2 separate regions of the Homo sapiens genome follow, and region 2 is linked to region 1. The links are contacts of gene promoters, found by promoter capture Hi-C in blood cells and fetal thymus (Javierre and others, 2016). All regions are on one chromosome and are shown on one strand. The core of a region is centred on a gene start or on the middle of the fragment in contact, and the rest is flanking DNA. Distances in the headings are between cores, read along the strand shown.

Evidence for each region. Contacts are between HindIII fragments. The CHiCAGO score rates a contact against its expected background, and 5 or more counts as called.
Region 2: a contact is called between a fragment that was not itself captured here and the fragment with the promoter of ANKAR in region 1, in 5 of 17 cell types (M2 macrophages, total B cells, naive B cells and 2 more). The highest score is 8.1, in M2 macrophages.

Annotation. Positions count from the first base shown.
Region 1 is chr2:189,672,515-189,678,488 of GRCh38, reverse strand. ANKAR (ankyrin and armadillo repeat containing) reads right to left here and starts at 3,819. Exons shown (of 23, transcript NM_001378068.1): 1 at 3,659-3,819; 2 at 1,398-2,033. The coding sequence starts at 1,998. LOC105373793 (a long non-coding RNA gene) reads left to right here and starts at 4,204. Exons shown (of 2, transcript XR_923692.3): 1 at 4,204-4,658; 2 at 5,096-5,369. RefSeq lists an enhancer at 3,434-3,693 and a silencer at 3,744-4,163. The HindIII fragment of the contact is 6,953 bases long and covers 2,513-5,974 here.
Region 2 is chr2:190,082,724-190,088,709 of GRCh38, reverse strand. It overlaps a transcript of AKAP19 not described here. Among named protein-coding and RNA genes, the nearest start is that of MSTN, 23 kb to the right of the region's middle. The HindIII fragment of the contact is 958 bases long and covers 3,341-4,298 here.

The DNA.
Region 1 (5,974 bases), core at 2,570-5,069:
AACCCAAAAGCAAATGCAACAAAAACAAACATAAATAGATGTGACCTAATTAAACTAAAAAGCTTCTAAACAGCAAAAGAAACAATCAGTAAACAGACAACCCACAGAGTAGGAGAAAATATTTGCAAATTATGCTTCCAACAAAGGACTAATATCCGGAATCTACCAGGAACTCAAACAAATTAGCAAGAAAAAAACAAACAATCCCATCAAAAAGTGGGCAAAAGCCATGAATAGACAATTTTCAAATGAAGATATACAAAAGGCCAACAAACATATGAAAAATGCTCAACATCACTAATTATCAGAGAAATGCAAATCAAACCACACTGAGATACCATCTTACTCCCGCAAGAATGGCCATAATTTAAAAATAAAAAAATAATACATGTCGGCATGGATGTGGTGAAAAGGGAATACTTACACTGCTGGTGGGATTGTAATGTAAACTAGCACAACCACTATGGAAAACAGTATAGAGATTCTTTAAAGAACTAAATGTAGAACTACCATTTGATCCAGCAATCCCACTACCAGGTATCTACCCAGAGGAAAAGAAGTCACTATATGAAAAAGACACTTGCACATGCATGTTTATAGCAGCACAATTCACAATTGCAAAAACATGGAACCAGTCTAAAGGCCCATCAACCAATGAGTAGATAAAGAATACGTGGTGGCCAGGTGCAGTGGCACATGTCTGTAATCCTAGCACTCTAGGAAGTCAAGATGGGATGATCATATGAGGCCAGGGGTTCGAGGCCAGCCTGTTCAACACAGGGAGACCCCATCTCCAAAAAAGAAAAAAAAAAAAAGAAAGAAAGAAAATATATATACCATGAAATACTACTCAGCCATAAAAATGAATTAAATAATGGCATTCACAGAAACATGGATGGGGTTGGAGACCATTATTCTAAGTGAAGTAACTCAGGAATGGCAAGCCAAATATTTTATGTTCTCCCTTATAAGTGGGAGCTAAGCTATGAGGACGCAAAGGCATAAGAATGATATAATGGACTTTGGGGATTCTAGAGGAAAGGTAGGAAGAAAATGAGGGATAAAAGACTACACATGGGGTACAGTGTACACTGCTCAGGTGATGGGTGCACCAAAATCTCAGAAATCACCACTAAAGAACTTAGCCATGTAACCAAAAACCACCTGTTCCCCCAAAAACTATCGAAATAAAATTTAAAAATTTTAAAAATGGCATTGAATAAAAATAATTAAGAAGTGGCCAGGTGCAGCGGCTCATGCCTGTAATCCTAGCACTTTGGGAGGCCTAGGTGGGTGAATGGCTTGAGCTCAGGGGTTCGTGACCACCCTGGGTGACGTAGTAAGACTCTGTTCCAAAAAAAAAAAAAAAAAATTTAAGAAGTGTTAAATTCTCTTACCTGCTGAACTAAACTCTGAAAAAATGTCTTTATTTGTTTGAGGTTTTCCATCAGGATCAATGTCCATGATGGCACGCCACAATTCAGAGAATCTAGCTCGTTTTTCTTTGGGCATATATATTCCATGCCATAGTGCTTTCAGCATGTAGTCAATATTGATCAGAATTTGCCCAATTCTGGTATCATAATAAGCTGGAGGTAATTGACAAGAAGAACTCTGATCATAATTAGCTTCTAAACTGATGGAAGGGATTTGATTTAGGCAATAAATTCCAATAGCCAACTCTCTTATCATTTGATGGACCTCTCTATAGTCTAAGAGGGCAGTAGGGTCCACGGGAGTCAGTAGGATTGCAGTGGAGAAGCCTACGTTATTCATTTGACTCATAATTCCACATGGGAGGTCTACTTGAGAGCGCACATCCTCTTTGGCAGACAACCAGCTAACTAGTGCAGTAGTTAGTAACTCTTGTATTTCACTCCGATCATATTTTTCAAAAAAAGCAGATGCATTTCTTTGTATTGCTAAATTTTCCAGGTAGGTGTCTTCATCCTGAACTTGCTCAAATCTAGGTAATCCTTTTTTGGGCAATCTTAACATTTCTAATTAAATCTAGTGTGTCCTTTTTGAAGCTTCTGCAATGAATAAGAAGGAAAAGATTATCAATAAAATCTGACATGCCAATGAAACTGGATTTGTCTAGAAATAAATCTGTACCTTTCACCTACATAAGATTAATTTTTCATGGTCAACCATTATAGTTTTCAAATTAAAAATAACTGCAGTATATGAAAACTGAAATTTGAATTAAAATAATTAAAATTATAAAACCTTTATCATTAACCATGTTCTGCTTTTCAAAGAATTCAAAAGACAAGAAGATGTATGTCAAAAAGAAACGTTAAGTTTATCTGTGAGAAGCTACTGTTACATACCTATTTTGTTGTTGGAGAGGCATTCTTTTGTATATGTTCGTGTTAGTCTGTTTGTGTTGCTATAAAGGAATACCTGAGACTGCATAATTTATAAAGAAAAGAGGTTTATTTGGCTCACAATTCTGCAGGCTGTACAAGCATGGCACCAGCATCTGCTCAGCTTCTTGTGAGACCAAGCTTACAATCATGGCGGAAGGGGAAGGGGAGCCAGTGTGTCACATGGTAAGAGACGGAACAATAGAGAGAAAGGGGAGGTGTCTACTCTTAAACAACCAGATCTTTCATGAGCTCAGAGGTAGAGTTCACTCTGCCAGGAAAGCACCAAGCCATTCATGAGGGATCCACCCCCATAATCCAAACACCTCGCACCAAGCCCTACCTCCAACATTGGGGAATCTATTTTAACATGAGATTTGGAGGGGATAAATATCCAAATCATATGGATATTTATTTTGTTTTCAGTTTTTTAAAGCAAGACTATACTGACCTGCATGAAAGAAAAGAAAAGGGTGGGGCGCAGTGGCTCATGCGTGTAATCCCAGCACTTTGGGAGGCCAAGTCGGGCAGATCAACTGATGTCAGGAGTTCGAGAACAGCCTGACAAACATGGAGAAACTCCGTCTCTACTAAAAATACAAAATTAGCCAAACGTGGTCGTACATGCCTGTAATCTCAGCTACTCGCGGGGCTTGAGACAGGAGGCTGAACCCAGGAGGCGGAGGTTGCGGTGGCCTGGGCAACAAGTGTGAAAAACACTGTTTCAAAAAAAGAAAAAAAAAAGAAAAAGAAAAGGAAAGAAGCATTTGCTTAACCTTCAATTTCTGTGCCAATGAATGCCTGTCTATTCCTGAAATAATAATAACCACAACTACTATTTATTGAGCCAGGTTCTTTACTATATAATGGTTTGATTTATTTCATCTGATTGGTCTCTATTATATAGTGGTTCTCAAAATTTAGCTTGTATCAAAATCACCTGGGGCTTGTTCAAATACAAATCGCTGAATCCCACCACTGAGTTTCTGATTCAATGAGCTGTAGTGGGGCCAGAAAATATGCGTTTTAGTAAAGTTACAGGAAATGCTGATAGTGCTGGTTTGGGCGCCACACCTGAGACCCCAGGTCAGTGAGTCAGACCTTGTTATGCCCACTTTATAGAGGCAAAAACGGAGACCAGGAGGTTGCAGGACAAGTCTGAGGTTTTACGCCTTTCAGAAACAGAACCCACGTCTGTCCAGTCAAGCCCGGGACCCACGTCCAAAAGCAGCTCGCGTCAGCCATGGGCACGGGAAAGGGGAAAAAACAAGGAAAGGGGAGGAACCTACTCTAGAATGGCTGTTTTCTTGTCCGGGAGAGGGACGCTGCGTCCGCGGCGTTCCCGTGGGGCTGAGAACAGTCGTCGCCGCCTCAGATGGCTTCTCGCGGGGCCTTGAATCCGCCCTCAGGGCCTCCGCAAGGGCGAGCGGGAGGCGCACCGGAAGGAACTGAGAGGAACTTTCAGGGCTTTTCGCCCCACCGTGGCGGCCCGGCCCTCCTCGCCTCGCCGGCCAACACTGCCGCCGCCCGGGCGCGGGTCGAAGCGGTTGGTCCTCCGGGCCCTGGGGTGGCTGGGCTGCTCCTCGGGCGGAGCCTGCGGGCGACTAGGCCTGGTGCGTCCCGCAGCAGCCGCAGCGCCCCCAGGCGGCGCCCGGCCCCTTGGCTGGCTCAGACCCCCCGCGTGCGCATCATCCCAAGCCCGCTTAGCGCTTAGTCCAGCGGCATGCCGTGGGCACTGTGCCGCCCTCACTATCTGCCTCTGCTAAAACACCGAAACAGAGTAGCAGAGGAGACAGCGCCGGGCGTTGAGGCAGTCCCGAGTTGGAATACCACCTCCATCATCATTCTTTCATTCAACAAGCATTTATGGAACACCTATTATGAGTCAGGCACCCAGCTACAAGCTGGAAACCCTAGAAAACAGGGCAGACACGAAACCCCAAGGAGCTTACAGTTGAACAGATCATCTCACAGCTATATTTAACAGTGTGCCAATATTAGATGGAATGACAGCACTCGAATGAAAGCTAACCTAGCCCAGGGCTAGGAAAGGCTGCCTAAGGAAGTGCCCTTTTCCCCTCCGAGCCTAGAAGATGGAAAAGAGCTACCCAAGCAAAGGACTGGACAAGTAGCTTTTCAGGAACAGGGAACAGCAGGAGAGAAAGAATTGAAGTGAGAACAAAGTTGAAATGGTTGAGAAACCGCAAAACCCTGCTTAGAGAACAAGAGAGATGTGGGCACAAACCGAGCTGCTGAGGTGCGCGATGGACAGATCATGCAGGCTGCTGAGTAATGATTTTGAATTTCATCCCAAAGGATTAGCCTACAGTAGTGGCAGTGGAGGTGGGGCTCAGGGACTGTGGACAGATTTGAAAAATAATGAGGTTGCCTGTTGGTGACAGATTGGGGATATGTTGAAAAAGAAGGTTGTGTCCAAGTCAGAACCACATTTCTGTCAGGAGCAACAGGATATCAGGGCAAGATTAAGAGTTCAGTTATGTACTAATTGACCTTGAAGTACCTGTGAGAGAAATTGAGATGTGAGATATGCTTTAGATAAACAGTTCTGGGCTAAGAATGGCAGTAGGGGTTAGATGTATAAATTTTGGCAGATTTATAGTAATTGAAGCCAGGAGTGGGGTTGAAATCACCAAGGGAGAGCGTGCAGAATGAGGAGTTGAGAACCAAGGATTAGAGACCTGAGAAATTTAACATTTAAACGTCAGGTAGAGAGAGTGAAGTCAGCAAAGAAGACAAAAAGAACAGCCAAGAAGGCAGGAGGAAAACCAAAATTGGTCACAGAAGCCAAAGAAGTGTGTGGAAAAAAAAAAAGGAATGGCCAACTTTATCGGATGCTGCTGCTCGGTCAGGGGAGATGAGAACAAACTTCCACTGAATGCAGCAGCTTGGAAGTTCTTGGTGACTGTTTGGGGCAGAATTTCTCTTCCAGTAACCATGTCATTATTTTAGCTACTATGGAAATAAATATTAATAAATTTATGAGGACTATTCCAGGGCTTTTTTTTTTACAAAGATTTGCATGTTTGCACTTAAGAAATATGAACCATATATGTACATTCTCCTACTTCAAGGATTGTTTCCCCCTGGGTAGCCAAATGGTTTGTTCCATGTGTCTCAAATCTTCGGAAAGAGATGCCTCATTTTTTAAAGGATCAACACAGAACTCCATCCCAGAGCTAATGGGATTGAATAGCAGAAGGTTGTAAATGCCCAGGCCCTCTTGGGGTTCACACACATGCATGTGTATCCTCTCTCTGTCTCTCTCAGTATTCTGGTGGAGCAGATGACCTGGAAATTCCTTATAAAAGTTTGACTGATTAATACATTTAAATCTCATAGAGTAGAGTAGCACCTGGAATATAGCATTATGTAAGTTATAGCTATTTTCAGTATTAAACTGTATTGGTGTTATAATATTCAATTCTAGGCCGTGGGGCAAACCTCTTAAGTTCATCTACTCCCAATATAAGCAATGTCAATTTAGTGCTCAGGCCCACACAGACACTTGAAGTTGTCTGCTTTCAGATTGAGGGATGAAAGCTATGTAGGCAGTATCTAAATTTTGGTTGAACATTGCATCTTCC
Region 2 (5,986 bases), core at 2,570-5,069, 410 kb before region 1:
TTTAAAATATTCACTTGATCTAGTTAACTAAAACTCAATTTTGCCGAAGAGAGAATTTCTAATTGATATTAACATGATACTTTTTTTTTCTTTAGCCTTTATGAGTTTATACAACTTTGTATCTGACTCAAATTTATTTTTGGAATGTTAAGTAGTTCTGTCCTTCACTAGGTTACCTATGTTCCACATCTCTATTTTAATCTTTTTGAAATATTTATTTGGATATTCTTTTTACGTCCTTTTCCATTCTTTGCCTCTAAAACTTGTTGATAATGTACTAAGCAAAGGGACAAAAAGGAAACGATGGTAAAGGACCTTATACTGGGATTTTCTGGAAGGCCTGACTCTGATTCTTACCCTCTACTCAGAGCTCTGGGACCACCCACTCATGAGTGCTCTTTGCATCTTCATTTTTCTTCTACCAATCAATACTTCTCTTTCTCCACTCCTTAAATCAGAGGTCCCCAGACATATCACGATCATGGGGTTTGTGCATTCACTCTCCTCTCACTGTACCAGAAGGCATAATCCTGGTCCCTGATCATATTCTTAGGTAGTTATGGAAGCTTTGGCAAAGTCACTTTACTCCTTCCACATTTCCTTTCTGCCATCTTTAAAATAGGTATAATAATATCAGCTATACATACTTTACAGTGTTTCAGGGATGATCTCTGTAATTTTTTCCTCTCCAATTATTCAAGCAGGTAGCCAGGTTCTTTTCTACTTTTTTGTGTGTGTCCGGAATTTTTTGCATGGGGAAAACTTAAGCCATCTGAGGTTTTAAAACTCCTTATCTTTTATACAAAAGATTATGGTAGGAGCCCTGGAGAAGGAAGGGAGAAGAGGGCTTTAAGTAAAAAGAACAAGATAGAAGATTGTCCCATTCTGACTAGAAAGGTTATAGAGGTTTATTGGTTTCATGACCAATTGGGAACACTATAGAGCCTGCTCTGAGGATGCCCCTGAGCAGGGTGGAAAGACCTCAGGGTGGAAGGGTTCATGATGTATGATTCAAAACCTAACTGGAAGACAGACAGAAGTAGAGATCGACATTGATTCACAGGCAAGTGGCACTTTGGCCAAGGAGTCAGCGGGTTGGAAAACAGAATTTGAGGAATGGTTAAAGGGAGGCCTGAGGAAGAGTTTTAGGACGGGCCTCTCAGAGTAAGCAGAGTGAGAATATCTGTGTCCCAAATTAATGCTTACTAAAAGGCATCCACTGTAAAACAGATTCTCAGTAATCAAGTAAAGAGTATGGCCAATCCTGTGGATGCCAGTTAGCTGCCTCCCCTAGCTACCCTGGCGCTTGTACAATGGGCCCATGAACACTTTGGCCCTAGCAACGGGCATGTTGATCACGTGTGGGCTTAAGAACATAGGATTCTTTTCTCCCACTATGATCTGGCTAGTCTCACTGATGAGAGATTTAAGGAATCTGAGTTGAAGAAATGGTTTCATGTCTGTTGGAAAAATCTGACTTGATTAAATGGTAGAATAATCTATTGACAACTTATGTTGCCACTTGTAAGACTAGGTTGCTGTCCCACAAGTTATTGTATATTTCCCAAGCCAGCAACTAATATATAATGCTATTTCTTCCATAGCCAGAATACTTAGATCTGAAAATGAAAGTGTAAAAGTATTGGTGGTTCCATTATTATTCCTAATGACCTACTCACATAACTTTTGTTTCCAACCTCACAATGTTGTGCTCTTAGTTTCCATGGAAGGAATACTTTTTCCAGGAAACACTAGAAGGGTTCCTTTGAATGGAAGCTGAGACTGCCACATCAGCCACTTTGAGGTCTTCAAGGCACTGAACCAACAAGGAAAGAAAGGGATTACTGTATTCGCTGGGACAATTAATCCTAATCATAAAGTGGGAAAAGTGGTGGTACTACAAAACAGAGGGAAGACCATGTCTCAAAGGCAAGACATTCTCTGAGCAACTCCTTTCATATCCATATCTGAGCAATTCCTTCCATATCCATGGTAAAATTTACAAGATTAGAGCAAACCAAGCCAAGCAAGAACCACAATGGTTCAGATATTTCAGGAATGAAGGTTCAGGTCACTCTGACTGATAAATAATAACACCTAGCTAAAATGATAACTGAGCAAAGGGAGCATGGGAAGGGAAGTGGAAGAGGGAGTTACAAATACCTACTATGGCCTCATAAATTGTGTAGACTGCAACCATCGTGCATATTTTCTAATGTTTCTCTTTCCCCATCTTCCTTGAGGTCTTTGAGGATTTGAACCTAATTATGGAATAGGTCAGGGTCTGGAAGTGATAAGTAGTGAGAATTAACATTTAGGAGATTCGTCATCTTCCTGCAAATAAACCACCTCAGGTGAAATTATTACAGGTTATCAGATGGAAGAGGAGGACTGCTCCTACTAACAACTAAGACTCAGTGGAGTTTGTTAATTCAGGCAACAATTGGTGATATTTTAAGGAATGTTTTGTCATTACATTGTACAAATTATCAGTATCCTATTTTCCATTGATAGTGAGGCCATTACTGATTTCAAGTCTAATCTATGTGTATGTTAACATCCGCAATGTGCTTATACTATGTGATAGATTTCTTTGGAGGAAGGGAAACACAAGTGAAGGATTTGTAGTTGGATTCATTAGAACCTACCCAAATATTTCCATTCACAGGATCCCACTCTACTAACCTATGCCTAGAAAGGCTGCACTGTAATGCTGAAAGCTGTAGAAGCAAATTTAGGTTTGTTTTTTGGCTATTTCAGCCCCACTGGTACAAGAAACAAGACAGTCTTTTAGGTAGTTTCTAGTGCAAGCAGAACCTTTCCCATGGCCTTCGTGCTCATAATTTCCACTATAATATTTTATTGCACCAGTTACTTCATCTCTTAAGCCTTGCTGCTGAGAGGCACCTGGTTACCAGCAACAAAAGCTGATCATTTAAGAAATGTTTTGTCACTGTATGGTATGGATGATCAGTGTCCTATTTTCCATTGACAGTGAGGTCATTACCAATTTCAAATCTAATCTATGTATACATTAACATCTACAACGTGCTCATACTATGTGATAAGTTGTTCAGGGGGAAGGGGAACACAAATGAAGGAAAGAAATGGCCCATGGCCTCAAGTACGTTGTGATCTTATAATCAGTAGCTAAAAGAGTTCTGCTAAACTTCAGAGAGGAAATGGGATTCTTTCAGCTGCCTCATTCCCTCTTCACTAGATGATCAGTGAACGCTATATTTGTTAAGCTGAATTAGAGACGAGAGAAACTATTTCTTGGAGTGCTAAGTACTGATCTCGTATTTCTCACAGAAGCGGTGTTAAAAATGACAGTTAAGCTTTCACACTAATTCTTCAAGGCCTATTGAACCCAAAATGTTACTGAAATACACTGTTATTTGCATATAAAATATTGTAAATATCTGGCAAAATTATGAATAGGCTTTAATTGAATAACCAGGAAACCTAATTACCATCCAGAGATTGTTCCTATGGTAAAATATATTTCATGTCTAATCTAATATGAGATTGAAAATATCCATTTCCTTTCCCTCCCCTCAAGCACATATTCCCTACCCTGGCATCTATGGTTAAAAGGGAGTCCTCCTCTCCTGGCCACTTCCCAATAATGCCATGTGGTCTGGCAATGAAGGAATCACCCCTGACTAGGTGTAAAGAGAAGGGTGGTTTGGGAAATGGTTGGCAGCAGGGGCAGAAAGTAGAAGATGGGCTTTACAGCCAGGCTGACTAGGAAAACTAGAAAAGTTTTCCCATGGCCTTTTCAATGCACTATATGCATCTGACCCCAACAGGAGGCCACCAGAGGCAGCATTCCCTCCATCTGTCCCCAGATAAAACCCTTTTCAAGAATACCTTTTACTTCTTTCATAATCAATATTTTACAGAATGTTAAGTAACTTGTCAAAGTCCATTTAGCAAGAAAATATCAAAGCCAAGGTTGAAAGTTAGGTTATCGTACTCCCGTGTCCCTTCCTGTATGTTTTTCAGTACTTTCTGGGAAAATACAATCACCTTAAAAATAGTCGACAAGTGGGTTAGAAGAAGGGATGTCAGTTAATTAAATGACTGAATCTCAGTTGTTTAGTCTGTAGACTGTAATCTGATTAAAGGAATTTTATTGTGTTTTTTGACTACGTGAATACATTAAAGAGTTATATAATACAGCCTCAAAAAAATAGTCAATAAGGGGCATTTTCCACCAATTTATCATGATAGATAAACTATACTTCCCATCAGTGGTCTCAAACCAGCCAACACATTAAAATCACCCAGAAGCTTTAAAATTAACTGAGCTCTAGCTGGGCAAGGTGGCTCATGCCTGTAATCCCAGCACTTTGGGAGGCTGAGGTGGGTGGATCACTTGAGGTGAGGAATTCGAAACCAGCCTGGCCAACATGGTAAAACCCTGTCTCTACTAAAAGTACAAAAATTAGCCAGGCATGGTGGTGGGCGCCTGTAATCCCAGGTACGTGGGAGGCTGAGGCAGAAGAATTCCTTGAGCCCAGGAGGCAGAGGTTGCAGTGAGCAGAGACCATGCCACTGCACTCTAGCCTGGGCAACAGAGCCAGACTCTGTCTCAGAAAAAAAAAAAAAAAAAACCTGAGCTCTACTCCAGACCAATTAAATTAGACTCTCTGGGGGTAGGGCTTTGTGCAAATTTAACCATTTGACTCTAATGTATGCCCAAGGTTCAGAAGCTCTGGTATAATATATTATAAAGAAAATAGGCTTCGGAGTCTCAAACCTAGGCTTGAAGTCAAGATCCGTAACTTGCTCGCTGTGTGACTTCAACAAGCAAGGTACTTAATTGTTTTAAGAGTGAGAAAGAAAAGAAACCTTCTCTGAGGAATGTAAGCCTCCTCTAAATTATCAGGCCCAAAGAGGCATGGGAGTAAGGCAGCAGTGACATCCCACTTTCCCTGCTTGAGCTCATCACCTCTTGAAGCTTCTTGCTATGTGGACTCTAGACTGACTGTCGCTGCAAATAGCTGTAAGTTAACCTAACAATGTTGCATGATGGACACCATAACTCACGCCCTAGAGTTCAACAATGTATAGCTAATCACTAATCAATGTCATTTCTGTAAACCAATGGGAATTCCTGAAAAACAACTTTGTATCAGCCCACCGTCTTCCTTTTTTGCCTATAAAAACCTACTTTTCACAAAGGTCAAATGGAACTCTTATACAAGGTTATCAGGTCTGAGTCTTCTGGGCAGCTGTCCTCATCTTGGCTCAAGTAAACTCATTAAAATTATATTTAGTGCCTCAGCTTCTTCCTTTAGGTTGACAAGAGAGTAGATTTTTAAAATTTTATTTTGAGACAGGATCTCTGTCGCCCAGCTTGGAGAGTAGCACGATCTCGGCTCACTGCAGCCTCCACCTCCCAGGCATCGATCCTCCCACTTCAGCCTCCCAAATAGTTGGGACTACAGGTGCACACCACCACACCTGGCTAATTTTTGTATTTTTAGTAGAGACGGGGTTTTGCCATATTGCCCAGGCTTGTCTCAAACTCCTGAGCTCAAGTGATCCACCCGCCTTGGCCTCCCAAAGTGCTGGGATTACAGGGGTGTGCCACCGCACCCTGCCAAGAGAGTAGATTTTAAGTGTTTCACCATGCACAAAAAATAAATATGTGAGATAATACATATGTTAAATAGCCTGGTTTAGCCATTCCATAATGTATGCATATATCAAAACATCATGTTGTCTACCATAAATATATACAATTTTTACTTGTCAATTTAAAAAGTGTTAAGTTTTATAAGGATCAGGGAGAATGTATTTGAGCATCTCACATTACATTTGGAACAAGTAGAAACACAATAAATGGTAGCATTAATACTGGAAAACTGCTATAGTGGAGAGAAAGTGGGTTTAGAATTGGATATACCTGGCTCCAAATCCCATTTCTACCATGTTTAGTCTTTGATAAGTTAAACGTTCTGTGCCTTAGCTTCCT